5 separate regions of the Homo sapiens genome follow, and regions 2, 3, 4 and 5 are each linked to region 1. The links are contacts of gene promoters, found by promoter capture Hi-C in human tissues and cell types (Jung and others, 2019). All regions are on one chromosome and are shown on one strand. The core of a region is centred on a gene start or on the middle of the fragment in contact, and the rest is flanking DNA. Distances in the headings are between cores, read along the strand shown. Region 1 holds the start of INHBA (inhibin subunit beta A). Region 2 overlaps LOC105375242 (a long non-coding RNA gene). Region 3 overlaps LINC01449 (long intergenic non-protein coding RNA 1449). Region 4 overlaps SUGCT (succinyl-CoA:glutarate-CoA transferase). Region 5 holds the start of LINC01449 (long intergenic non-protein coding RNA 1449).

What was found. Contacts are between HindIII fragments. The study calls those that stand out against the background at their distance.
Region 2: a contact is called between a fragment that was not itself captured here and the fragment with the promoter of INHBA in region 1, in 2 of the 25 tissues and cell types used here (lymphoblastoid cells and mesenchymal stem cells).
Region 3: a fragment that was not itself captured here is called in contact with the fragment with the promoter of INHBA in region 1 in 3 of the 25 tissues and cell types used here (H1 embryonic stem cells, dorsolateral prefrontal cortex and hippocampus).
Region 4: a fragment that was not itself captured here is called in contact with the fragment with the promoter of INHBA in region 1 in 2 of the 25 tissues and cell types used here (aorta and mesenchymal stem cells).
Region 5: a fragment that was not itself captured here is called in contact with the fragment with the promoter of INHBA in region 1 in 1 of the 25 tissues and cell types used here (lymphoblastoid cells).

What each region holds. Positions count from the first base shown.
Region 1 is chr7:41,700,379-41,705,767 of GRCh38, reverse strand. INHBA (inhibin subunit beta A) reads left to right here and starts at 2,678. Exons shown (of 3, transcript NM_002192.4): 1 at 2,678-2,763; 2 at 5,251-5,389. The region is part of intron 1 of INHBA-AS1 (INHBA antisense RNA 1); the gene reads right to left. RefSeq lists an enhancer at 548-637. The HindIII fragment of the contact is 9,174 bases long and covers 1-5,389 here.
Region 2 is chr7:40,867,729-40,873,380 of GRCh38, reverse strand. The region is part of intron 1 of LOC105375242 (a long non-coding RNA gene); the gene reads left to right. It also overlaps a transcript of SUGCT not described here. Among named protein-coding and RNA genes, the nearest start is that of LINC01450, 110 kb to the left of the region's middle. The HindIII fragment of the contact is 4,088 bases long and covers 802-4,889 here.
Region 3 is chr7:41,118,295-41,123,901 of GRCh38, reverse strand. LINC01449 (long intergenic non-protein coding RNA 1449) reads right to left here. Exons shown (of 6, transcript NR_110832.1): 4 at 4,619-4,935. All of the region lies in intron 2 of LOC105375241 (a long non-coding RNA gene), which reads left to right. Among named protein-coding and RNA genes, the nearest start is that of LINC01449, 19 kb to the right of the region's middle. The HindIII fragment of the contact is 5,711 bases long and covers 1,135-5,607 here.
Region 4 is chr7:40,769,549-40,775,272 of GRCh38, reverse strand. All of the region lies in intron 13 of SUGCT (succinyl-CoA:glutarate-CoA transferase), which reads right to left. Among named protein-coding and RNA genes, the nearest start is that of LINC01450, 210 kb to the left of the region's middle. The HindIII fragment of the contact is 3,890 bases long and covers 1-3,196 here.
Region 5 is chr7:41,097,539-41,102,538 of GRCh38, reverse strand. It overlaps LINC01449 (long intergenic non-protein coding RNA 1449), which reads right to left and starts at 935. Exons shown (of 6, transcript NR_110832.1): 1 at 680-935. The HindIII fragment of the contact is 4,261 bases long and covers 1,444-5,000 here.

The sequences.
Region 1 (5,389 bases), core at 1,429-3,928:
TTTGTGAAGTCGCCAGTAAATCAGGCCGCCTCCACTAGGTGAATAACGCGGTGGCAGCGGGCCACTTTGCTAGTGCAGTCGCTGGAGGACCGCGCTCCGCACTCAGAAGGGGGCAGTTGGCTGGTGCGCGAGCGCTCCCGGCTCGCCTCTGTCCGCGGGGAGCCAGCCGGCCCCTCCGCAGGTCCCGCTCCCTGACATTTGCTGTGGTTTCACTCCCTGGCACTGAGGGCTGGGTTCAGAGATTCCCAGCTGCACTCACTGAACAGTGATTTTTTTCCCCTCCCTGAATTCTTTAGCTGCCAAAAGGGGGGAAAAAATCAAGAGCTGCTCTTAAAAGAAGTTGCCCTTGCTGGTGCTCAGGGTAAAAATAGAGGCTGCCGCTTAGACCGGCTTGGCCCTGGCTCCAGGCATCCTGCGAGCTGGGCTCGAGCAGCGGCCGCGTTCCGGCGTGATCCCTGGAAGCTGCCAGCAGGTGCTGCTCAAGGTACAGTAGCAGGGCCGAGAAGCCGGGACCCGAAGGGCCTGGGGTGCGGGGAAGCTCCGGGGGAGGGGGAAGTGAAAGAGAAACCAAACCAAGGAAGGAGAAGGAGATTCTGGTCAGGACTGGGCTGACCAGCTTGTGCCCCGGGCCCTTGAGTTCCGCAGGGAAAAGCTGATTCCCAGTCTAGAATATTCCACAGAAGCTATTTTAACCTGCCTGCTTCCTCCACCACCCCCACCTTGATTTGCACCGAGGGAGGAGGCATTGCCACTGTGGTGCAGGTGGTTGCAGAGGGGTTGCAGCACGGCTGGTAGGCTGGCCTGGCAGGTGGGCACTCGGTGGCATCAGATGGCCAGCGGAGTTTCAGAGTCACACTTGTGTTGTGGCTCCTCTGGTCAGAGAGCTGCAGATTCCTGTGACACCCATGTTTAAGAACAGCCACCAGGCTTCTCAGAAATAGTATCACTTATTATTATCTGACAGCTGCACTTGACCCCCACAGGTTCATATCATGGATCCCATTTTATAGATGGGAACACTGAGGCCTGAGTTTACACGGTGAGTGAGCAGAGGAACTGGGATCTGATCTGGGTTTGTTTTGTGCCCCCCACCCCCACCCCACGTCACCTACACACACACACACACACACACACACACACACACACACACACACACTACTTTGTGTGGAGGCGGAGGGGATGTTTTCAGGACACTAGGGTTCATGTGTGGGTCAGGGGTGAGTTTAGATGCCCTGAAGGTCATTGACTCCACTAATTCTCAGCAAAAAGGGTGGAGAAGTTTCTTTCTTATAAAGGGTTTGAGTTCACCCAGTGCTAAGCTGAGGGGCAGGTTTGGAGTTCACCATCATTAATCCTATTTCTGTCTTCGCCACTCAGATTCACTCTCTTCCTCTACAACCTAATGATTTTTTTCCTACTTCATTTCTGCATATGCAGTTCTTAGAATACTCCTTCCCCCCACCCCCATGCAGCTCAGCACCCACACTTTCTCTGTATCTAGCCAAGAGAGACCCTTTTACACAGAAAACTTCTGGTGTCCTAATGGAACCTGCTTAAGCCACACATCAGGAGGCCAGAGCCTCTATATTTTGCTTGTGGGCACAGTGAAAAGTTTATTTTATGCATGTTAAATCCTGCATACAAAACAACATATCTGGTCATATGGCTCTCATTAGCTCCCAATTTTGCACATTTTATCCAACTTGTCATGAGAACTGGGCTTATGCTTCAACTGTAGTCCTTCAAACAACCCTTCACCGTTCTTGTCAGAGGACCCCTTCCTCCTGTGTTATTTACCAGACTTGCCAACACCCCTCCCCCACAAAAAAAGCCTGACCAGCTTTACCCCTATTTCAAGGAGTGTTCACTTCTTTTCATTAATCTGCTGTTATATTTGTAACAATTTAGAAATTATAGGAGTTGAAGTTCTGGTAAAAAAGAATGATGCATGAGGGTTTTTGTTGTTGTTGTTGTTGTGTGTGTGTGTGTGTGTGTGTGTGTTTGGTTAGTTAGAATGAGATTCTAAAGACCTGGGAAGGATACTTATGAAGTTCATTTAAAGAGAATTACTATTTCCAAAGTTCTTGATTTATGAAGCAGGCATTCAATTTCAAGATGTAAAATAATAGTGTAAGTTGGTTGGGGTCGGGGGAGACCATCATCATATGATTATACAGATTTTCCCAATTTTTTTCCTCAATGAAATAGCTTATTTTAAAAATATAAAATTAGAATCCCTATAAAGAACACTACCAATTTTCTTTCCTGAAAGAAACAATAAAATACTTTGTAAATAGAAGCAACTTCATGAAGTAACAGATGTTTTATGTAAAGACATAAAACTGAACCTGAATATAACGAGACGTGTGTGCGAGTAGTAAAAGTTGAAAGTTGGACACACTCATTGAGACATATCTATTTGATTCCAATGTTTTTCTAAAAGGTAGAGTAATCCTAGCCAGAGGTTTCACTGGCTCAGTGCATCACCCAGTAGTGTCTCAGAAGCCAGGAAGGGCTTTCCATTAGATAATGAATTATGAAATGTCTCACACTGGAAAAACCAGTCATCCGCTGATGTCATGCTGATTCCAACCAATCCCAAACAAAGCCCCAGCCCTCCTCTGTTTCAGTGGTACCAATGTGTGGTGTACAAATAAGTAGTACAGTATAAAACTTCACAGTGCCAATACCATGAAGAGGAGCTCAGACAGCTCTTACCACATGATACAAGAGCCGGCTGGTGGAAGAGTGGGGACCAGAAAGGTAATGCTTTTTAACTCTTACTTCTGAGCTCTTTACACATTCAAAGATAGGAAAGCTAGGAGGAATTTTACAACTAATTGGCATTTCCAATGTGCATTGTGATGTGTACCTTTTTATATTATTCAGGCAGGTTAATACAGCTTTTAATAGTCCTAGAGCATGCAAATAGATTATATGTTTATACAAGCCACTCAGCACATATATACAAGTACATATGCCAAAGAGAAAGCTATTTTTAAGAGTTACATTCGCAAACAGTAAATTCAGGGAACACACACATACTCAGATGCAGAGAGAATCCAAATATTGATAAGTTGCACTTATCTAAATGCTGCTATTAGGACTCCTGAGTTGTTTAGAGCCATTAAACTTTTGGTTGTATTTCAGACTTTCTTGTAAAACTTAATTGAACTGCAAAACATTTTGGGTACTGTATATGTGACTCCAAATAGGTGGATGATGTTAAGTATTATAGCACAAAGATTTTTTATAAAACCATTGTAACACAAATGTCCCCTGCCTCCCCCATTCTCTTTCACCATCCCCGTAAAAAATATGAGGCTTTTTAGGCAATGTTGACAAAGTTTTAACAATAATGGTGGAGTAATTGATGTTTCTGGAGCTGAAACCCCAAAGGTGTTAGGTTACTTGTAACAGAAAAAGTCTTACAAATAGTTGTTTTGGAAAAGGGGACAGTATATATAATTCAGAAAGCATTGTTAACCTGTGCAAACTGTAATTATAACTTAGTGTCACAATTTTCTTGCCCTCTTCCCCTTGCACTCAGATCTTATCTTGTAGTAATGATATTTATTAACTCTTTCCACCTAAACTGCATTGCTTGACTGTAATGCTATGAACACACTAGGTGTCAGATATAAGCTGAGTGTATCTTCAGAAACCAAGAGGGCTTATGTGTGGGAAAGAAACCGAGAGGGAAGGAACGCTTTAACAGATGGACCCCTTAAAGATTCTTCTGCAAGATAAAAGCAATAAGACAGAAAATGAAAAAGAGGGGAGGGGGAAGAATTTTTTTTAAGCCTTAGAAAGGCATTGTTAAAAAATTCACATTTTTCTTTTTCTGTGCACACTAAAATCCATGATGATTTCATCTGCACTGTTCCTTTGAGGGAAAAAGAAGCAGTCAAGGAGGCTGTCTATGAATGCACTGGTCGGGACAGGCTTGGGGCAAGCTGAAAAAACTACCACATGACAGAGAAAAATAATTTGCCAATATATTTTAGAGAGTCTTTTCCCATAGGACCAGTTATTCAAGTCATACGAGTGCACTCTTTTTATAAAAGGATGTGGGAAAGGCCAAGAGAATTTTGCATTTTATCTGTGAAGTCCGGCGAGTGGTGGTAGGCTGTAATGTGTGAGAGTGAGTGGGTCCCCGGCAGAAGGGGGCAGCTGAACGCGACGGGGAGAAAGCGCTTCTGGAACTTGGGCTTGTGACAGGCTGCCTGCCCTCTGGTCCTTCAGTGCCCTGCTGCATTTCACAGTTGGGAAGAGTGGAGTGTATTATATGACCCCAAACAAAAGTTCCATTGCGCTCTCCTCAGATTGCCTGCCAGTGTTGATGACCTGAACATTTAAATATGAATGAATTGGGGGAAAGGACCATCTCCCCTGGATCCCATCAGGCCAGAACAATCCTCTGTTACCCCTGAGTCCCTCTTCCCTGACCTCCACTACCTGTCCACTGGACCTCCCTGCACCCTCTGCCCCACCACGTGGCCAGGTGGGCGTTCTACCACCTAGGGCTGTGGCTTGGCTGGGTGGAGGGGCGGTGGGAACACTTTTTCAATCAATTCATCCCTATTGATTGAGACACTGTGTTTGTTTGGGGTTTCTTTTCTCCCCTCCAAAAAAGGAAGAAGGTGAAACCAGGAGACTGGGCAGAGAAAGAAAAAAAAATAGTGAACAAAATTAGGATAATTTATTTTAGAAGAGAAAGTAGAACCCCCGAAAATGGTGATATTTGAAGAGAGGTGTCTGTGAGGAAGCTAAGAGCAGAAGGAGAGCAGCCTGTCAGAAAACGGGCTGTCCCTCCCTCCCTAATCACAGCCCTACTCACAGCAAACTCCCTCCCTCTCCATTCACTCACTTACTTAGGGCCAATCCTTTCTCTCTCTCTCTCTCTCTCTCTCTCTCTCTCTCTCTTCCTTTCCCTCTCTCCCTCTCCCCCTCCCTTCCCTCCCTCTCTCCCTCTCTCTCCCCCTTCTTTCCCTCTCTCTTCTCTCCCCCTCTCTCCTCTCTCTCTGTCTCTGTCTCCCTCCCATCCTCTCTCTCTGTCTCTGTCTGTCTCCCCGCCACCCTGTCTCTCCCTCCCTCCCTGTCTCCCTCCCTCCCTCCCTCCTTCCTTCTCTCTTACTCGGAGACAGTCAGAACTCTCCTCCCTGACAGCCACAAACCTACAGCACTGACTGCATTCAGAGAGGAACCTGCAAACAAAACTTCACAGAAAACTTTTTGTTCTTGTTCCAGAGAATTTGCTGAAGAGGAGAAGGAAAAAAAAAACACCAAAAAAAAAAATAAAAAAATCCACACACACAAAAAAACCTGCGCGTGAGGGGGGAGGAAAAGCAGGGCCTTTTAAAAAGGCAATCACAACAACTTTTGCTGC
Region 2 (5,652 bases), core at 1,596-4,095, 830 kb after region 1:
GTAACTTGCTGAGGTCTATAGAGTCAACAATTAGGGCCAAGAAAAAGTCATCCTGTAGGCTCAAATTCTATCATATGACCTTTAAATATTTTTTTCCATTCAATTCTTTAAAATACCATTTCCTTTGGCAAAGTAATTTTTTCCAATGGGAAGCTCATTGGTAAGTTTTTTGGTCCTCATTTTAACCTTGTTAGAACAATTGGACAGAATTGCAAATGTTGATTAATATTTTGCACATGTATTTATCCTCTTTTTCATGTCCTTAAGTACCTCTTGAAAGCTCCATATTGTAGAGAAGACCCTATGACTTCTAGATCCGCAGGTTTTCAGTGGGGTAGGGTACGTTACTGTTATGTTCTGATCAAGGGATCAGCCGGGTTCCGCTGAGGCTGCACAGCTGTGACCCAGTCAGCAAGCCCTGACCTCAGACGCCTCTCATGCTCAACACTTTAGCCTTAATCCACCTCAGTTCTTCTCCAGAGCAGACATCTGAAGAGTGTGTACATCAAAGAGTTAGGAAGGTGTGCCAAGGAAGGTATGAATTCTCTCACTTGATATTTCTTAACTTTGTAAACACTCTACTTCCCTACAGTTCTGGGTTAGCAGATACCCAAAAGGGGTACAGTTAATTCCTCATTTAAAGTTTCTTTCTCCTTTAAACTTCACTGTTCAAAACTGTCCATCTATTTTCTCTACACTTATTCCATTCTCTGTGTATCCACAGTATGAAAGAAATAAGAATGGCAGAACTCAAAATATGGATCTTAGAAATTATGTCCTCAGAGCCCCTGACTCATCAGAGTAAACTGTGGCCCAGAGGGGGATGCGGCCTGGTCAGTGTCGCTTGGACAACTTATAGTTCTCTAATTATATTAAGAACTAAGATCTTCCCTGTAATTTGACTTGTGTCCCTAATGTAACTGCAAATTTGAAGAACAATTAATGAGGAATCTTCTTTAGATAGAATGTTTTGCTTCCTCCACGTTAGAAACATATTCATTGCAAGAAGCCAAAATAAGAATTTCACAAGAAGTCAGAACAAGAATTTTTCATCAAAAAACCACTATGGTAAGTTTTATCTGTGGATCAATTATACCGCAATGAGCCCACCTGTATCCTGCCTTAAACTTAAATAATGTAAAAAAAAGATGAATAGATGGGACGGTCAGGCACCCGCTCTCCCACCTGAAGGATTAGCTTCCTCTAGATTAGTGTTTCTCTGCAGCAGCGTTACTGACATTTTAGGCTGAGTTTTTGCTGTGGGGCTGTGCTGTGCATTGCTGGATGTTTATCAGTACCCACTATCCCCAGCTTCTACTCCCTGGATGCCAGTAGCAATCCTTCTCCCCCCACACTCCCCTCCATGCTGTCCCCAGTTATGAGAACCAAAAATGTCTCCAGACATTGCCAAATTTCCCATGAGGGAAAAAATTGCCACCCTCCTCCCAGAGAACCACTGGTCTAGAACGTGGAGGTTATTCTGGGAGGTCCTTGCAAAAGTTTCTCATTAATATTTGTGTTCCATATCCTTTACCGCCTACTCTACCACTACTGCTGTAATTTATATCCTGAGCTCCCCCGAAGAGGTTAACATACAGCAAACAACACTGCCCTTTCATAATGCCTCCTCCAGACAAGGTTTGACAAAGAGTGGAGATCACTGAAAGACGTGAATACCAGAGGGTGAGGCTCACTGGCGGGGTGGGGGCGGGGGGACTATAAAGGTGACCTACTGCAGAAACCACTCAGGTAGTTAAACTCCTCTCTGAGTTTACAATTCATTATGTATTACTGTATAACAAACTATCTAAAATTTAGTGGATTAAAACAATATCAATGTATGTGGGTCAGAAATTTGGTCAAGGTTCAGATGGGCAGGTTCTTCTGCTCCATGTGGCACTGGCTGGGGTCACTCATTCAGTTGTATTCCCTTGGTTGCTAAGATAAGCTGGATATCCAAGAAAGCTTCACTCACATGTCTGGTATACTGGTGCTCCTCCAAATGGCCCCCCTCTCTCTCCACATAGCTAGCTTGGGCTTCTTCAGAGGATGATGTTCAGACATGTAGCATGCTAGTTGATTTCCAAGAGCATAAAAGGAAGATGCCATACCTCTTAAAGACTTAGCTTAGAAATGGCACGTGGTTTTAAAAATATGTGCAAGGATACATATAGAAACAAATATAAATGTGTGGCTGGGTGTGTGTGTATGCATGTATTTCCTCCCTCGTCTGCAAAGGGGACCTAGTCATAATGATATTCCAGTAACAATTAGCACGTCTAGTATTCAGATCTTGGTTTCTAAATACCATTTTCTAGTAAAAGGAACAAGGGCTTTTTGGAGAAATGATTAATTCCAGGGCTATTGTAGGAAAAATACAACATGATCCTGAACATCTTGTATTGACAGAAAGTAAGAAAGTGTTCTTAAAAAGGTAGGAGCGTGTTGAAAGGACATTCAATTCATGCTGAAGAGGCTCTCAGTGGCCAGATCTGTGACAATTTAAGCAAAAAAACAATGAGTACAATAAATGATAACCCACAAAATAAAACAAATATCAACTAGTCCATATTGATATAAATAAATAATTGAATAAGTAAACAAATGGAGAACGGGCAACTCTTACAATAGAATTACAGTTAATAAATCTAAAAACAGGAAAAATAGAAGTAGAATACCAAATAATTGTTTAAGGCAAGAATCACAGACAGATGCTAAAATTCGTGGGCAAAACTATAATGAAAAACAGAATATTTGCATATTTTCTATGGTATCCTAGAAAATGCCTCCTCAAAAGATAATGCATTCTATCTAATCCCTGAAATCTGTAAATGTTATCTTACATGGGAAAGACTTTATGGATGTGATTAAATGAAAGATCTTGAGATGGAGGAGTTATTTTGGACTGTGTGGGTGGGCCCTGAATAGAGCCACAAGTTTGCTTACAAGAGACAGGCAGAAGGAGATTTGATGGCACACAGAAGATCATGTAAAGGAGGAGGAAGAAAGCAGACTGAGAGAGAGAAGATGTTACACCACTGTCTGTGAAGGTGAAGAAATGACCATTGGCCAAGGAATGAAAGGAATGCAGCTTGAGATGCTGGACTATGTGAGGAAGGGAATTCATTTCTAAAGCCCCCACAGAGAGCACAGCCATGTAACACTTTTCTTTCAGTTCAATGACATTGATCAGAATGAAATCCAAAGACTTCTGGCCTCTAGAATTTTGAGAGAATTAAGTTCTATTGTTTTACATGATCATGAGTGTGGTAATTTGTTACAGTTGCTGAAGTGAACTAGTACAGTCTCAGAATATTTCCCCAAAATATACTTACTGATTACAGAAACAAACAAAAGCAAACCCAGGACTTTTAAGGGGAACTTGTAAGATGCCGCCTTAACTAAAGGATCAAAGTTAAAATGACCAGTAATACAATATCAACATCATGTACATCCTGTTACGATATACTGCAAAGATCCAAAATCACCTCTGAAATTTCTTGCCAAAAATGCATAATCCTGATCTAATAATGAAGCATTTCACACAAAACCAAATTAATGGACATTCTACAAAATAACTGCACAATACACTGAAGGTAATTAAACAAAGAAAGATTGGAGACTGACCCAGATTGGAGGAGACTAAGAAAAAATGACAACTAAATGTGATGTGGAATCCTGGAATTGATCCTGGATGAGAAAAAAAAAATGACATTCGTGGGTATATTCATTTTCTGTCACTGCATAGCAAATTACTCCTAGCTTAGAGGCTTAAAACAACAGCCATTTATAAGCTTTCAGCTCCTTAAGTCAGAATTCAAGCATGGTATATCTCTACTCAGGGTATCACAAGACTGAAATCAAGCTGGCTTGGCTGAGTTCTTTTCTGAAGCTCTGGAAATGGATCCACTTCCAAACTGATTCAGGTTGTTGGCAGAATTCAGCTCCTTGTGGTTGTAGGACTGAGGTCCCTGTTTTGTTGCTGGCTGTCACTTGGGTTTTCTCTCACCTCCTAGAGGCCACCTGCATTCCTTGCCATGTGACTACTTCCACATGTCAAATCCCCTTTGTGCTTCAAATCTGAAGCCTAATGAGTTTGACCTCTAGACCCAGGTTTAAAGGACTCATGTGATTAGTTCAGTCCCACCTAGAGAGTCTCTCTATACTAAGATCAACTGATTTTGGACCTTCATTACATCTACAAATTCCTTCCATAGAAGCACTTACTTAGTGTTTGATTGGATAACTGAGAGACAGTGTGTGTGGCTGGGAATCTTGGGGACCATCTTAGAATTCTGCCTACCCAAGTGAGACAATCAGTAAAATTTGAATAATGTTTATAGATTAGCTAATAGGATTATATCAATGCTAATTTTCCAGTTTACATAATGTTACATTGGTTATATAAAATGTTAACATTAGTAGAAACTGGGTGAATGTACATGGGAATTCTATGTACTATTTTTGGCATTTTTTGTAAATCTAAAATTATTTAAAGTAAAAAGATTTTTTAAAAAGCAAGTCATAGCCCATAGCCAGGCTCAGTGGCTCACACCTGTAATCCGAGCACTTTGGGAGGCTGAGGTGAGAGAATCACTTGAGGCCAGGAATTTTGAGACTGGCCTGGCCAACATAGTGAGACCCCCACCTCTATAAAAAATTTAAAAATTAGCTGTGCATGGTGGTGCATGCCTGTAGTCCCAACTACTCAGGAAGCTGAGATGGGAGATCGCTTGAGCCCAGGAGTTTGAGACTGCAATGTGCTATTATTGTGCCACTGCACTCCAGCCTGGATGACAGAGCAAGCGCTCACCTCTTAAACAAAAACAAAGCAAGTCACAAGGCTATCTTGGTGTCATGGAATACTATGCAGCCATAAAAATGAATGAGATCATGTCATTTGCAGGGACATGGATGAAGCTGGAAGCCATCATCCTCAACAAACACAGGAACAGAAAACCAAACACCGCATGTTCTCACTCATAAGTGGGAGTTGAACAATAAGAACACATGGACACAGAGAAGGGAACAACACACACCAGGGCCTGTTGTGGGGTGAGGGGTGAGGGGAGGTAACTTAAGAGGACAGGTCACTAGGTGCAGCAAACCAACATGGCACATGTATACCTATGTAACAAACCTGCATGTTCTGCACATGTATCCCGTATTTTTGTTTTGTTTTTTAGAAGAAATAAAGAAAAAAAGACTAGCTCAGTGTCAAGGGGAGGAGAAATAAAATGCATCTCTTGCAAGAAGGAGGCACGTGCATATAGGGAGGGAGGAATAGATGGTGACTATCCTTGAAGGCTATTACAGACACTATGAGTAGTAAAATAAATATGACCAGTTTCTGTCTCATAGAACTTGTAATCTGGTGGGTGAGAGGATGTCTATTCAGCAGATATTTGTTATGTATCTCCTATAGAGTAGGCGCTATGATAACAACTGGAGATACAATAGTGACTACGATACCCACAATTATATTATAGTTTAATAGAAGAGAACCACCAGTAACCAGGTAATGATAGCTCAATGTGTGACAGCTGTTTTGGTCAGATAAGCACAGGGGACTAAGACAGCAAACAACATGCAGCGAACACTTCTAATTGTGCCGATTAGAAAGTGCTTCATTCATGGCTTAATAGACAAACA
Region 3 (5,607 bases), core at 2,741-5,240, 580 kb after region 1:
ATGGGACCACCATCGTATATGTGGTCCATTGACCAAAATTTCATTATATGGGACACGACTATATACCAATAGCTTCCTTATCATCAGTAAACAGTCTGGCCTCTGGTTCACTGCATTTTTGGAGTTCCCTGCAGGAGAAGGACATAGGCTATGATCACAAGATTAAGAGAGGTAAGGGCAGAAAAGAAACTGATAAAAATAGCAGGGGTACTCTTCCAGCCGCTACTGTTGCACCAAAACCAAGTCCAAAAAGGTATACCAAACTTAGGATACCCTTAGCAAAATCAATAATCAGTGGATAATGGGTGTAGGAAAAGTTGGGCGTGGCAACCAGATTTCCAGGCAGCAGCTATTCTCAGCACCTGGTGATTCTGTAAACTAGGGAAGGGGATTCAAGTTAAGATGTGAGAATACTGGTTCAAGGTCTATGCCCAGATCAAAGGAAACTGACAGGAGTAAGCAGGAGAGCTGTGGTTCTTAGCCGATGGGCTGAAGCAATGACATGGGTACCAAAGACTGGAATGAAGAGATTGAATGGATGGACACCTAGAACCTGAGCGAGATTCCTGGAACAAGTGGGTCATGTGGGATGAAGGTAGGCAGGGCAACTAGACTTTTAGGTTCCCAGGAGTCCAGGACTCCAGGATCAGGACACCAAGATTTTTTTTTTTTTAGACCTCATTTTCTGGAGGCAAAGAGGCTATTCCTACATAACTTGGTCTGGTTTTTATTGAAGTTGGCTCTGAGATGGGGAAACAAACAAACAAACAAACAAACAAGCAGGCTATAAATGACCCAAACAGGTCTTCATGCCTTCATTCTCTCCATTAGTTCCATTTCCTCCTCCTCAGGGTCACTAGAGTTATCTTCCTGGGGTACATTCTGATCACACCACTTTTGTGACTTAAATTACTTGGTCATTTTCCATTGTCTACGAGATAAAGCCACACCCATAGCACAGTAAACGAGGCATTTCACAACCTGAGTCTAATTTAGCTTGCAAACCATGATGTTCCTCCTACTCTCTCCAGTCTCAATCCATGCAAACAAGGGCTGCTGCTCTCCTTTTGAACTCCTCAGGCTTATCTAATGCCATTGTTGCTGCAATCCTCCTGCAGCAATGCTTCCTCTTCTACTTTCTCTATTGGAAGAATTCCTATTCGTATGTGAACGTCCTTTTTATCATCAGCATCTTCCCCAGCCACAGAATGCCATTAATCATTTGGCTTTGTTCTTTTTCATTTTAGTTATTTGTTACTATTTAAAAAGAGTGTATTTACAATCTATCCTGTTTCAAAACAGGTTTGGATCTCATAAACAGTTATAAACAGCACAGTAATATAAATATTAGGATTTTGAGGAAAAAAAGAATAAAGAAAAACAGCCCCAGGGACAGAAAATGGAACCAAGAATGTGTCTGATCCAATCAAGCATACCAAGGAGTCCTGTACAGTTGCTAAAACTGGGCCACAAATTGAGCATTAGGCTTTCCCACAGCCAAGATGAGGAGAGAAATGTGGGTAGTCACACAATTTCTTTTGCCCATAATATAAACACCAAATAATTGGTCAGTGGATGCATAGCTATTCTTCACACTTACACTAAAAGAGAATTTTTTTCCCCAAGGTTTACTCATGAAGAATAAACTGCATAATGCAACAGAAAACACTCTCCACAAACATCTCTATGGGAGAAACAGCTGTTAGTATCCTAAGGCATGCCTTCAGGATTTATGACATATCAACAAAGCACAATCAGTCAAACCAATTCTACAGAGGAGACTGCTACAGATTATATAATTCTCAGTTCCCCTGACTTTGTTTAAAAGGGCAATATTTTTGGACTAAGATATCTGAAAATCTCTCCAGCTTCCTTACCTCCCTAAATTTAACACACATTTTTGCATACATTTTTTATTTTTGGTGTTCATAACCCTTTTAAAACCCTTGGGCCTCACAATTTAAGGATCTCTAGGGAAATAGACTAACTATCCTTAGGAAATCCTTTATACGTGTTGCTTTGCTAATACACAGATAATTTGTGTTTCCAGTGGAATCAGAAGCAAATCCCTTAATATGCCATCCTGTTGCTAGTTACGGAGGAGATGGGTGAGAATGGCATCTCCCAAAGAAAAACTGAGTCACCTATCAATGACACATAACTAAATAAAAGATCATCATACCCTAACTGGGAAGTCAGACAAAGAGAACTTATAGGCAGAATAAAAATTACCCTTATAAAATAATTTTTGAAAGCTCTCTAAAACATAAAAATGAGCCATTGAGGTCCAATTTTCTTCAATTTGTATGATCAAAATAATTTGTCTTACAAATTTTACAGGTGAGTGAAAGGGTTTCCCAGCTTAACCATAAAACAGCCTCAATAAAGCCCATATGATGCCTAGCTTTGATCAGGAGATAATTCTTGTGTGTGCTTGAGAATTATGCCAAGCTAAATAAATGAAGTAGCTTGCTGAATGAGATTGCCAATGATGTGTCAGGCAAACATTAAGGAACTTTCATTTTAGGTGATATTATCTGGCAATAATTAGATACAGCCAGTGCCCATGATTCCCTGCTCTTAAACACTGATCTAGGAATGGTCCAGATGTTGATTTGCAGGTAGGCATAGTGGTGCAGCCAATAACCTCTTGACATTCCTTCTGGTGCTAAGATGCTCTGCTTCTCTCAACAAGCCTGAGTATTAATGAAGAACAACATCAAAAGCCACAAATTAGAAGCAAATTTCTTAATACTTAAGATAATCGTTCAGCGTTTGGCTGTAGCATTTTAAAGCTTTCAAAATGTGATGACCTGGGTAAAGATTTCAATAAAAACAACAGTTCAATATCATTTTGAACTCAGGTGTTTATAAATATAACACATTATGATGCCCTGGTTCCATTTTTTTAAAACCCATTTTTTAAAAAAATCATTAAAATCCATTAAGAGTATCTTTGTATTAGAAGAGAACTGGGCACAGTGGCTCACGCCCGTAATCCCAGCACTTTGGGAGGCTGAGGCAGGTGGATCACTTGAGATCAGGAGTTCGAGACCAGCCTGGCCAACATGGTGAAACCCCATCTCTACAAAAAAATACAAAAAATTAGCTGGGCGTGGTGACGTGTGGCTGTAATCCTGGCTACTCTGGAGGCTGAGGTGGGAGAATCACTTGAACCCGGGATGCGGAGGTTGCAGTGGGCCGAGATCGCACCACTACACTCCAGCCTGGGTGACAGAGCCAGACTCCATCTCAAAAGAAAAAAAAAAAAAAAACATAACTGGCTGGCCACATGTAGGAGAATGAAACTGGATCCTCAGCTCTCTCCTTATACAAACTTGAACTCAAGGCAGATTAAAGACTTAAACCTAAGATGTGAAACTATAAAAATTCTAGAAGTTAACATTGGAAAAACCCTTCTAGACATTGGCTTAGGCAAGGATTTCATGACCAAGAACCAAAAAGCAAATGCAATAAAAACAAGGATAAATAGCTGGGACCTAATTAAACTAAAGAACTTTTGCATGGCAAAGGGAACAGTCAGCAGGGTAAACAGACAACACACAGAGTGGGAGAAAATCTTCACAATCTATACATCTGACAAAATACTAATATCCAGAATCTACAATGAACTCAAAGAAATCAGTAAGAAAAGAACAAACAATCCCAACCAAAAGTGGGCTAAGGACATGAATAGACAATTCTCAAAAGAAGATATACAAATGGCCAACAAATATATGAAAAAATACTCAACATCACTAATGATCAGGGAAATGTAAATCAAAACCACAATACAATGCCACCTTACTCCTGCAAGATTGACCATAATCAAAATATCAAAAAAAAGTAGATGTTTGTGTGGACGTGGTGAACAGGGAACACTTTTACAGTGCTGGTGGGAATGTAAACTAGTACAGCCACTATGGAAAACAGTGTGGAGATTCCTTAAAGAACTAAAAGTAGAACTACTATTTGATCCAACAATCCCACTACTGGGTATCTACCCAGAGGAAAAGAAGTCATTCTTCAAAAAAGATACTTGCACACGCATATTTACCACAATTCACAATTGCAAAATCGTGGAACCAACCAAAATGCCCATCAATCAACAAGTGAATAAAGAAACTTTAGTACACATATACAATGGAATACTACACAGCCATAAAAAGGAATAAATTAACAGCATTTTCAGTGACCTGGATGAGATTAGAGACTAATATTCTAAGTGAAGTAACTCAGGAATGGAAAACCAAACATCGTATGTCCTCACTGATATGTGGGAGGTGCACTATGAGGACACAAAGGCATAAGAATGACACAATGGACTTTTGGGACTTTGGGGGAAGAGTGGGAGGGGGCGAGGGATAAAAGACTACAAATATGGTGCAGTTTATACTGCTCAGGGAATGGGTGCATCAAAATCTCACAAATCACCACTAAAGAACTTACTCATGTAACCAAATACCACCTGTACTCCAATAACTTATGGACAAATTTTAAAAAATTTAAAAATTAAAAATAAATAAATAATTATGAAAGTAGGCAATACACTAAGTTGCATATAAAATATCATAAAAGATAGTGATATGGTTTGGCTGTGTCCCCACCCAAATCTCACCTTGAATTGTAGTTCCCGTAATTCCTACATGTTGTGGAAGGGACCCGGTGGGAGGTCATTGAATCACAGGGGCAGTTACCTCCATGTTGTTCTCATGATAGTGAGTGAGTTCTCACGAGATCTGATGATTTTATAAGGGGCTCTTCCCCATTTTGCTCATTCTTCTCCTTTCTGCCACCATGTGAAGAAGGATGTTTGCTTCACCTTTTGCCACAACTGTAAGTTTCCTCGGGCCTCCTTCACCTTTTGCCATAATTGTAAGTTTCCTGGGGCCTCCCCAGCCAGGCTGAACTGTGAGTCGATTAAACCTTTTTCCTCTATAAACAAAAACAAAAACAAAAACAGACAAAAAAGAGATGGATTTTTTAAAAACAATAGTTCTCAACTGGGGCACGATTTTACTTTACCATCCAGGGGACATTTACCAATCCCACATCTGGAAACTTTTTTTTTGTAGAGATAGGGGTCTTGGCCACGTTACACAGGGTGGTCTTAAACTCCTGGCCCCAGCCTCCCAAATCGCTGGGATTACAGGCATGAGCTACTGCACTCAGCCAAAGCGACATTTTTTATTGCTGCCACTAGAGAAGGGAGTGCTGCTGGCATCTAGTGAGTGGAGGGCAGAGATGCTGCTAGTATAAAGTTACCATGGTTTAGTTTATTTTAAAGACAGCCTCAAAAGAAGCCCTGAACTAACACAGTATGAAGGCAGAGCTGCTCTCTGATGCAGAGATGGGGGCAAGGTGAAGTCAGATGCCCAAGTCCAGCTGACTGGAGCTCGTAGTGGCCCCTGAGGTGTCTCTGCCAAAAACTGCACTCCACAGAGCTCAGTGAGGAAAACCTGATGTAGTGCACATAAAATGTGGCTTTAAATCCTTTAGATCTACATTATAATCCCCTGCATTGACTGCCTACTAATTTCATCAATTTGGGTAAGTGATTTACTCTCACCAAGCCTTAATTTCCTCCTCTGAAAAGAGGGAACAATC
Region 4 (5,724 bases), core at 2-2,501, 930 kb after region 1:
ATATCACACTCATTTTGGGCACAGCTCATTAGTGTGCATGGGCCCTTCAGGCCACCTCCTTCTGATGTAAGCCACATTAGTGTTTACAGATGGTAAAGCACATTTATCTTTCAAAACCTTCAGAGATGTTCAAGCAACTCTGAATGACTCTCAAATAAAAGCTTTTGCATTTGTTATGTGGCATCTCTTCTGTGTAGAAACCCCAATAACACCACAGTTGAAATTCCATAGCATGGTAAGCAGTTCCAAAAATAAGTATAGATTGCTACTGTGAAATACATATATTTTCCAATAACAAGAATTGCAGTCTCATTTAGAGGTTTTTTTGGTCACTGTTGTTTCACAATTAAAAAGATGTGAATAATTTTATTTAACTTTTTTATCTTTTTATTACCAACTAAATGTTACTAATGGGACAGTACACATGGCCATGAAAACTCAAGACCCATTATTTCTTGATGTTCACACCAAATTTGTGGGTTTTTTTTTTTTTTTATTTGCCAAAATGCCTTAGTCGTTATATTTCACAGTTACAGTATTTGGGGTAAATTGAAAATATGAAACTTATGGAAAAAGCCAACATATAATCAAAATCTGTAAGTCTTTGCAAGGCTTTATAATCTGTAGACAAGTATCAACAACAGAAATAACTCTGTTAGGAAATTATAACTGCATTTCGGCAAGACAGTGTTTTTGGCCTACAGATTCTACTTGAGCATCTAAAAATCAAAATGTAGCAAAAATTAACACAATCAGCAATCTCCCATCTCCACAATGAGTAATGAGAACATTATAGATCAATTTCATGGGACACTGGGAACTTTTCAAGATTAATTAATAACATCTATTCTAAAGAGAAAGCAACAGACACATTTATCTCATTATACTTATTTGCAGTAATTACATAAAAGAGAGCATTTATGTAAATTACAGCAAATATTTCAGTTTTCATTTTGCCTGCTGCTTCTGAAGGCATTCTTTTGGCAAGAATAACTTCTGGGCTTTCATGAGATACATTAAATCTATTTAATAGAATTTCCTATCTTCCCTGTGACTTTCAGAGGGATGGCTATTCAATCTCTTCTAAAAGGGAAAGAAGGCTGATTTCCAAAACTTGGAAATAATCATAAGCTTTACACAATCTTGGTGAATCTTAAATTAGGGAAAGAAAAAAATGTAACAAAGGAAAGCTTTGGGTTGAATTCGGAAGTATTGTGAGATTCTAAAATTTGATGTAGTGTATTTGCCCTCATAACACATTTCTGTAGAAAATAGATTTATAGCATCCATTTCCACTCTGATTTCCTGTTTCTCTGTCCATTCAACAAGTATTTAGAAGCCTAAAATGGCTATGTGGAGTGTTTTAAGAGTTAACCTAGGAAGTGAGCACCCCTCTGGGAGCAATTTGATTGGTTAATACTAGTTCTGAGCTCGGCATGTGAATCTTTATGACTGCACAGCTTCGGGAATGAATTGCTTGACCTCAACTTTCTCCATGGGGGTGCACACCTTAATTTTCCACACTAATTTTCAAACGGAATGACAAAAACACTTTACTTATCTAGAGGTCAACTATTCTACAAACTCAACTACTTGGAACTCAGACAAAAAGCAAGCAAAAAAAGTATCTCTGCAGGCAAAGTGATGTCATCAAATCACATAGATTTTCCCATCGGAGAGCTGCTCATCATTTGAAGCAAATGTACATTGATTTTATTCACAATTCCCATCACTATGCTGATGTTGTTTTTGAGCCTAGAGCAGATTAGAGGAAACAAATCGTATGTGAGAAAGACAGACTAATAGAGGCAATACACTCAAAATAATATGATATAAAAAGATACGGCCGGGCACAGTGGCTCACGCCTGTAATCACAGCATTTTGGGAGGCCAAGGTGGGCTGGTCACCTAAGGTAAGGAGTTTGAGACCAGCCTGGCCAACATGGTGAAACCCCTTCTCTACTAAACATACAAAAATTACGTGGGCGTGGTGGCAGGTGCCTGTAATCCCAGCTACTTGGGAGGCTGAGGCAGGAGAATCGCTTGAACCCAGGAGGTGGAAGTTGCAGTGAGCCGAGATCACACCATTGCACTCCAGCCTGGGTGACAAGAGCAAAACTCCATCTCAAAAAAAGAAAGATACTAATTCAAAAATTATTAATAAAAAGGTCAAATGATTCCATGTGCCCCTGTAGTCCATAAGGAATCACTTACTATAAAAAATTAATATTCATAATGATTATAAAAACAAAAGTTTTCATTTTATTCAATCTACATTAGTTAAGAAAGTGAGGAAGTTGTTTTATAAAGTAATTTTATAAAGAATTTCATGGAATACAAAATATTTCAAGCTGGTGCAGTGGCTTACACCTGTAATCTCAGCACTGTGGGAGGCCGTGGCGGGCAGATTGCTTGAGCCCAGGAGTTCGAGACCAGCCTGGGCTACATGGTGAAACTCTGCCTCTACTGAAAAAATCAGCTGGTTGTGGTGGTGTACACCTGTAGTCCCAGATACTAAGGGGGCTGAGGTGGGAGGATCCCTTGAGCCCAGGGAGGTTGCGGCTGCAGTGAGCCATGATTGCACTGCTGCACTCCAGCCTGGGCAACAGAGTGAGACCCTGTCTCAAAAGTAAATGATAGAGATAGATAGATAGATAGATAGATAGATAGATAGATAGATAGATAGATAGATAGCAGATAGATAACACCAGATAGATAGATAGATAGATAGATAGATAGATAGATAGATAGATAGATAGATAGATAGATAGATAGATATTTCAAAAGAATTGACACATAAGGATATGCTCTGGAGATCTAGCGTCTATCACGATGAATGCTGGAAAATCTCATAGTTATTTAAAGAATTGCTTGTGAGCTCAAACATGGAACTCTGTCTTTTTATTTTTTTTTAACCAGAAGCATGTTCTCCTCCAAAGAATAAAGGCTTTTATCTGTAACCACAGGAACTTGAAACAATCTGCAAGACTTACGTATGGGCTGATATTCAGCAGGTGGTAACAGGAATATGGGAACCAAAGCCAGAAACTGAGCTTTCAATGAGAATGTTACTCTCTCCCCTACTCCTACAGACTTTTGGTGTGGAAAGTGAAGAAGAAGGGAGGAGGAAGGGAAAGTTCATCCTGCTGAGGATGGAGGAGCAGGCTGCAAGCTGGCTTACTCCTTCAGGGAGCTTGAGGGGGCACTATTAATAATTATGCTTGGACAACAGGCATACACCAAGACAGTTCTAGGCAAATGGAACATATGGTCACCCTAGTTTTAAGGAGCAAGATGAAAAATACTATGCTAATTAACTATCCTCTAACAATTCTTGAGGTAGAGGACAGTGGGAAAATATAAAGGAGTAATTCACAAAAGTATTCCATCGAATACCCTGAAGAAATAACTTCCCCAATTTATGTGCTCATTCATTCAGTTAGTCTCAGTGAATAGCTACTGTAATACATTACAATTTCCAATATAATCTCTCTTTCCTATTAGATTACATGTTTTTAAGAGCCAGAATGTCTTTTAAAATTATATTTCCTTTCAAGTCTCATTTATTTCACTTCTTCAGTAGATGATAAATATCTGTTAACAATCAAAATAGTATCCGTAAGAAAAATGGAAGACCTACATATTGAAAAATAATATGAATAATAATTACACTTTTATTCCCCCATCGAATCTTGAATTAATCTTACAAGGATAAAATCAGTCACTTGAACTTAGTGCTATACGATCCTGGATTGCTCTGAACCACAGTATTTACCTTTCCAGCACTGACAACCTCATGGCATTGTTAAGATACATTACAGGAAAGGGGCACATTAGAAAAAAAATGCTAGAAAATAAATTGTATATTGTGTTACTTGATAGACTTTATAATTCAATTTGACTATCAGTCTACTTGATAACTATAGTGTTATAGTTACTGATATAATTTGGTTACATCGATACAGATTGTGATCCACACACAATCTGCTGCATTTTAATAGATTAAACTACACCTTTCTAAACTGTATTTATAGAGAAAGATGTGGGTGAGTGTTGGGGGGGAAATCTAAGTATGTTTTGCTATGTGTAGAATTATAACTTTTGAAACAAAACATACACACACAGCTACATTTGTTATACTTTTGGATATACAATCTTAACTTCCTGGGAATTTCTAGAAAACTTTTAAAAGCATAAAATATTGTATACATGAAATTAAATTATCTGCTCATATTTCAAAATTTTAGAGACATTGGCATCTGGAAATTTTTCAGGGTTAATTAGTTCATTCATTCACTATAAATACATTTTAATAGCTACTGTGCTAGGCCATAAAGTGATCACAGAGCTCCTGCCTCAAATTGCTCATAGTCCAGTGAGCAATTTGTCTCCAAGGTTATAAAGGCATTTGACACAGTGAGTGAAGGTATTCACAGGATGTGGGGAGCATACAGGAGGGACACCAGTGCATTGGGGATTAGGAAAAAGTCTTCCTAGAGCAGGAATTATATAAACTGAGTTAAATGATGATGTGACAGATATGGTTTGTTGTCCATTAATATCCCTTCTCTTCTTCCATAGAAATAGGGCATCTGTTTTCCAGTAGGGAAGATGCCACTCTTCATCACCAGGATAAAAACTACATTTCCCAGCCCCTGTGCAGGTGACTAAGTACTTGTTAATATATGTGAGTATAGGTATAATTTGACAGCTTCCAGGAACCTTCTCCCGAAATAGTTGGGGTATGCTCTTTGTTCCTTTTTCCTCTTTGTGCTTTCCTCTAACCCTCTGTCTGGAACATAGATATGATGACCCAAGCTCGAAATGCCATCTTGTACTGCAAAGACAAGGACCACCTTCCAGGGAAGGTGGAGCAATGAGCTAAAAGGAGCCTGATTTCCTGAAGACATCCCAGGGCAGAGATGTCATACCAGCGCTGAACTGCCCGCCTCCAGACTATCATGGGAGAGAGGATTAACCTCTCTTTAATCTGTGCTATTTGGGGGTTTCTGTTATAGCTAAAGATAATCCTGATGCAGCAGAATAGAAGTTATCTAGGCAAAACATAATATAAAAGCCACTCACCACAGAGGAAACAATACATGCAAAATAACAGAGACAAAACAGCATGGTGTTTTCAAGAAACTTGACAAGTTCAGCATGACAGGGGTTCAGGGAGGAAGTAGATGGAAAAGTATCAAGCTTAATCATGAAGGGGCTAGCAGGTCATGCAAAGAAAATTCGATTTAATTAGAAATGCATAAAAATCAAATGCATATTTAAATAAAGGAGAAATAATGTTATAAGAAATGAGTGAGTTAATATACAGGCTCAATCCAAGAATCAACAACTAAGTGTTGAGGGAAAGAAGTCAGACAGCTATGCTTCCTGCATTGGTGTGTACATTTGGGGCCTTGGCTACCTTGTTTAGGGATCAAATAAAATTTAAGATAGAGTTTAGAGAAAGGCAGGTGTATTCATTTCCTGTGGCCATTGTTACAAATCGTCACAAAGTTGGTGGCTTAAAACAACGTGCATTTGTTTCTGTAGAGCTCTGGAGGTCAGAAGTTTGAAATGCGTTTCATTAGGCTAAAGCTAAAGCCCTGACAGAACTACAGTCCTTTTGGAAGATCTAGGGCACAATCCATTTCCTTGCCTTTTTCAGTTTCTAGTGATGGCCTGCATTTCTTGGCCTGTGGCCCCTTTCTCCATCTTCAAAGCTTA
Region 5 (5,000 bases), core at 2,325-4,824, 600 kb after region 1:
CTGGTCTCAAACTCCTGACCTCATGTGATCCACCCGCCTTGGCCTCTCTAAGTGCTGGGATTACAAGCATGAGTCACCGCACCCAGCCTGCTATCTGTAAGATTTTAATTTCTAAGGGCTTATGTGTTTTCTGTATATTCATATACATAGCCATGTGCTGCATAACAACATTTCAGTCAACAGGGGTCCATAAGATTATAATGGAGCTGAAAAATTGCTATCTCCTTGTGATGTTGTAGCTATCATAAAGTCATAACACAATGCATCACTCGTGTTTGGGGTGGTGCTGGTGCACACAAACCTACTACACTGCTAGTCATAAAAAGTATAGCATTTATAAAAATGTGCAGTACATAATACTTGATAATGATAACAAATGACTGCATTACTGTTTTATGCAGTTACTGTACTGTACTTCTCTTGCTTTCCTTCATCTACCCAATTCCAGGCCCTTTCCTCTGGTTTCTTAATGTGTACTCTATTGGTGACCCAAAGCAATGGCTTCAGGTCTCACCTTTATACCTGGACTCTCAGATTTACCTTTTCTTTTGATTTCTGGGATTTAATTTTCATCTCTTTACTTCCTTTCATTTATCATATCCAAAACTACATTTCTTTCCCTCAAGTAGCCAAGATTCTGTAATTGCCCACTCATATTAATCACTCTACCGACACTTACGTTACCTGGGTGAGAAATATTCGCATCCATTTTCATTCATTCTGCCCCATTTCTAAAGCAACCAATCATGACATCTTGCCATTTTAACTTCATAATGTCCCTCTTCTTTGTCTCTTTATTTTAATAACTTCTGACCCATTGATCATTGTTGCTTTTAAGATAGTCCCTGGCACTACTAGGAGGTCAACCATTTTGTTCTTTTCAGTAGCCAGATGCCAGCAAGTTACTGTCTCTTCAAATTAAGCTAGGTCATCCTGCTCCCCTATCCTTTCACAGTTTCTGAAGTTGGCTTCTATACTCAGTTCTAATTCTGACATCACACTAGGCAGTGCTGGGCATCATTCATCCTAATACTCTATAAGTGACCTTTGTTTTGTCTTTGTGTTTTGCCGATGTCTCCTGTAATGTATTGCCAAGCAAAATGTAGTTCTGTAAATGCAGTCTGTGCCCTCCTTGCTGCCTTGATGCATGCCAGATCTCGCTCTCCTGAATATGTCAGGAGCTTGAAAGCGGCATCAAGAGACTTCCAGAATTTCCATGCAGCTTACCCATATATGGAAATCCAGGAGATTCCTTTCTTATCATCTCTCCATTGAATCATAGAGCAGGAGAAATATTGATGACATAAAAAGCCTAACAGAGAAATATAGTCCTATCTTAAAAGAGTTCCAGAGGTATGTGGAGATCCTTCTCAGTAAGAAATTGCCAACAAAGGGAGCTCCACAAGTCAAATAATAATCCTCAAGCCAAAAGGGTGTTGTTATGTTTAGCCTCTTTTTCCAGTACCCGAAGCAGAAAATGGCCTCTCAGTAGGGTCAGATGGGTCTCTCCCCCAGTGAAATAACCTCAACTATGAAACTCTACAGCACATCAGGTGGGAAGGGAGTCACAGAACTTCCTAAGATTTATTACCTACAAACTTGGTACCCATGATGAGCTCCACTCATCCTCCCCAGATTGAGAAACTGTATAACACTCGTACAGAGATTATCCCCATTAGACTATGAGTTTCATTTCCTAGTATACATACAGCAAAATCCTGCATGCATAGCAAATAGAGAAGTGGCTTTTGATATAACCTTTTCAAAAAAATCTTATTTGAAATCTAAATATAGAAAATGGATAAGATTAGAAATATTTTGCTTGGAGCTGGCTAGGGGCCTCTATGAAAGTTCCATGTAACCTATGGAGAACACTAGTGCTCTGGGAAATATAGTTTGAAATAAATCATAATAAATATCATGTATGTCCACATTTCAGAGAGTATGTTACAAATGCTACTGTTCTCTAAAATTAACTTTGTCCCCTTTCTCCAGATATATTAGCGACAAACTTACGATGATTTGGGCTTAATGTCCTTAAGCTGGTTGGATTGGTGATGGATGGCATCATTCAAACCTCCCAAGTCTAAGCTGATGGGGCTCCATTGACATCAACACAAATATCAAATCTCAGGGTCTGTGCGATGAGCAAGAAAATCTTGATTCCAGTTTTCTTTCAAATTAGTCCCATGTGCTTACAATTGAATGAATTATTTTTAAAATAAGAATGTTACCAAAATGCCAGAGATTGGGTCCAGGTCTTCTTGCTCACCAAGCAGAAAGCTAATCACTGGGACAAAGAGTATTACCAGGGCAGAAGACTTTATATTTGGGTAACGTCAATTGGGAGAACAGGAGATAAGTCTCAAATCCGTCTCTCCAGCAAACTAACATTAGGGGTTTATGTAACGTGGAAAGTGGGGAAAACAGGAATTAGGGAGGGGCAAGAAAGCAATCAAGATGAATGAAGGTTTGACATCTCATCCTCTGGATGTGGGGATCTAGTGGGTTTCAGTTCTAAACAAGGAACTCAGATGGGACAAATGTAAGTTTCAAGTTTTAAGACAAGGAAGGCCCATTTCTACGGTTATTCAAAAACCTAAGAACAGATCATCTCATTGTTTGTGGAGATTGAGGTTTGCTACATTCCCCAATGATAAAATAGAAAACACCTTGTTTCATCACAGAATACTTTTTTACCAAAGAAGTGTTCAGGCTTTCAATGCACTTATAATTTATGTAAGGCAATAAGACACTAGTGTACTTGTTTTCCAGTTTTAGACTCATAGAAATGTACTTGTAACTTGCTTTTTAAGTAAGGAAGAATATTCTGCATCTTATTCCAGAAGTTGTGTTTTGTCCCCTTCTGCAATCCTACCATGCCATGCCTATATATGAAATCTCTTTGAAAACTATAGAAGCATAGGAGTTTTATCTTTAGAAAGTTGCCTACAGCTTCTAAAAGCACAGTAGTGTAGCTTATCAATTCAATTAAATTACCCCTGTTGTATCTGTGAATTCTGGACATGACTCAACAAGTTATTCTATAGACTTGAATAACTGACTAAATGAAATGTAATTTCAAAGCCCTTTTTAATCCAGTTGCCACAAAGATTTATCTTTCAAATCTTAAAGCCAATAATCCCATGAAGACAATTAGTAGTTTCTTTAAATTAAATTCTACTTTAATGTTAACAGGTCAGCAGCCTTTTCTTACTAATGTAGCTCATTCTAGAATAAAATATAAACATCCTTTGTAGAAAAATACGCTAAAACTAAAACTTCGACTTAAGTGCCAAAACACGATTTTAAATTTCAAAATGAAGGGCTGCATCGAAACGCAGAATTCACAGAGAAAATGGTGAAGAACCAACCCCACAAAGCCTTCTTCAAATCAAGGCCATAAATGGAAGATCAGAGTATGCAGGGAAGGAGTTGTGAGGTTTCAAGAGAATTTCTATTCTCTGCTATGTGGGTGAGTCACTTTCAACTTAAGGGGATCTGTTGGGGGGTGCGTCTGGGAGTGGGAGTGGGCTGTTGCTAGCTACTCTGTCTCAAGCATAGAGCAGATGGAGAGCTTGAAGCATGTTCCTGGAAATGTGGGCCCATCTTGAATTGGAGGCTTATTCTTGCCCGAGAAGATTTAAAGTGGTCTCTGGCAGGGCACAGAGAATAGATGATTGCATTTGGGAAGGAATTAATCTCTAATTGATGGCAGGGCAAGGAGTATATGAGTTTTTCCCATGGATCACACAAAAAAAGAAGGTCTAGAGCTATTTAGGTCTAACTCGAGAGGATGCTTGCAAGGAAGGGGATTCTCAGAAGCAAATGGGCACGGCAAGGATCATCTGAGAGCCAGCATCGGGGTGTGTAGGAGCCAGTGTGCTGCAGTACCAGTCACTGGCCAAATAAAAACGTGAGGAGCAGAGAGAAAGAGCTAAACACACCCCTTCACAGATGGTGAGTGGCTGCTCAATATAGGCCCTAACATGAGGAAGGGCTGAGGGAGTGTAACCCTAGAATAAAGATTGAAGTGATGTTATCTTAATCTGAATGTGCTGGTTTCACAATGGACTGGTTTGTAATTTCAAGTGATTTTAGGGCTGTTTGTGGCCTAAGTTTGATTGAAAAAGTCCTGGTGGTGGGAAAACAATCCCTTACCCCTGCACATACTTTAAAGGAATAAGGAGAGACAAAGCAAGCTTGCATTTTCGTTACATTTTGGCTGCGTTTTAGTCGTGGCTTTTCACATTCTGAATTATATTTAGATTGTTGAATTGAATTCAGTGAGTACACAATCCTTGCTACGAGGACAATTAGTACAATTAAATAAAAAGAGTGTGTGGTTTGGGATCAGAAAACCTGGATTTGTATGCCATGTCTTTGCTTAACTCATAATATGACCCTGAGGAACTTAACCTCTCTGAGCCCTGGTATCTTCGTCTATTGATTGAGAAACACAACTTGAGATTCTTTTGAGTATTAAATGAGATAATGAACAGAACAGCAATTCTGGTAACTGGCACTTGGAAAGTATAATAAATGGTTACTCTGTAGGACACAGTCATATAGATGCATTTTTTTAAGTGAGCTTAAAAAAAGGAATGCTGGTGTGTGTATTAGAAGATAATTTCTTTATAATTATGAACAAGTTCTCTCTTGTCTTTGGAGGAATCACTTTTAAAATGCATTAATCAGGCAGCCTGTGGACTCCTTTCCACAGTCATATAAGGACATCCATACACACAATAACAGTAATCATCAGTCATGCTAATGCTGGTTAGCCACAATGACACACACCTCTGAAGTGCATATTCAAAAAGGAACGTTAGAAAATATGTTTTTAAACACATGTCTCATAATAATGACTACATCTTGAGTAGCGACTAAAATAGACTGACCTTGTGCTTTTTTAGTGTCCAAAAAATGTACATTCAGCCCAGCAAAAACCTCAAATGGCTTCTTCCAGGCGGTTGAAAAACTTCGCCGGTGAAAAGCCA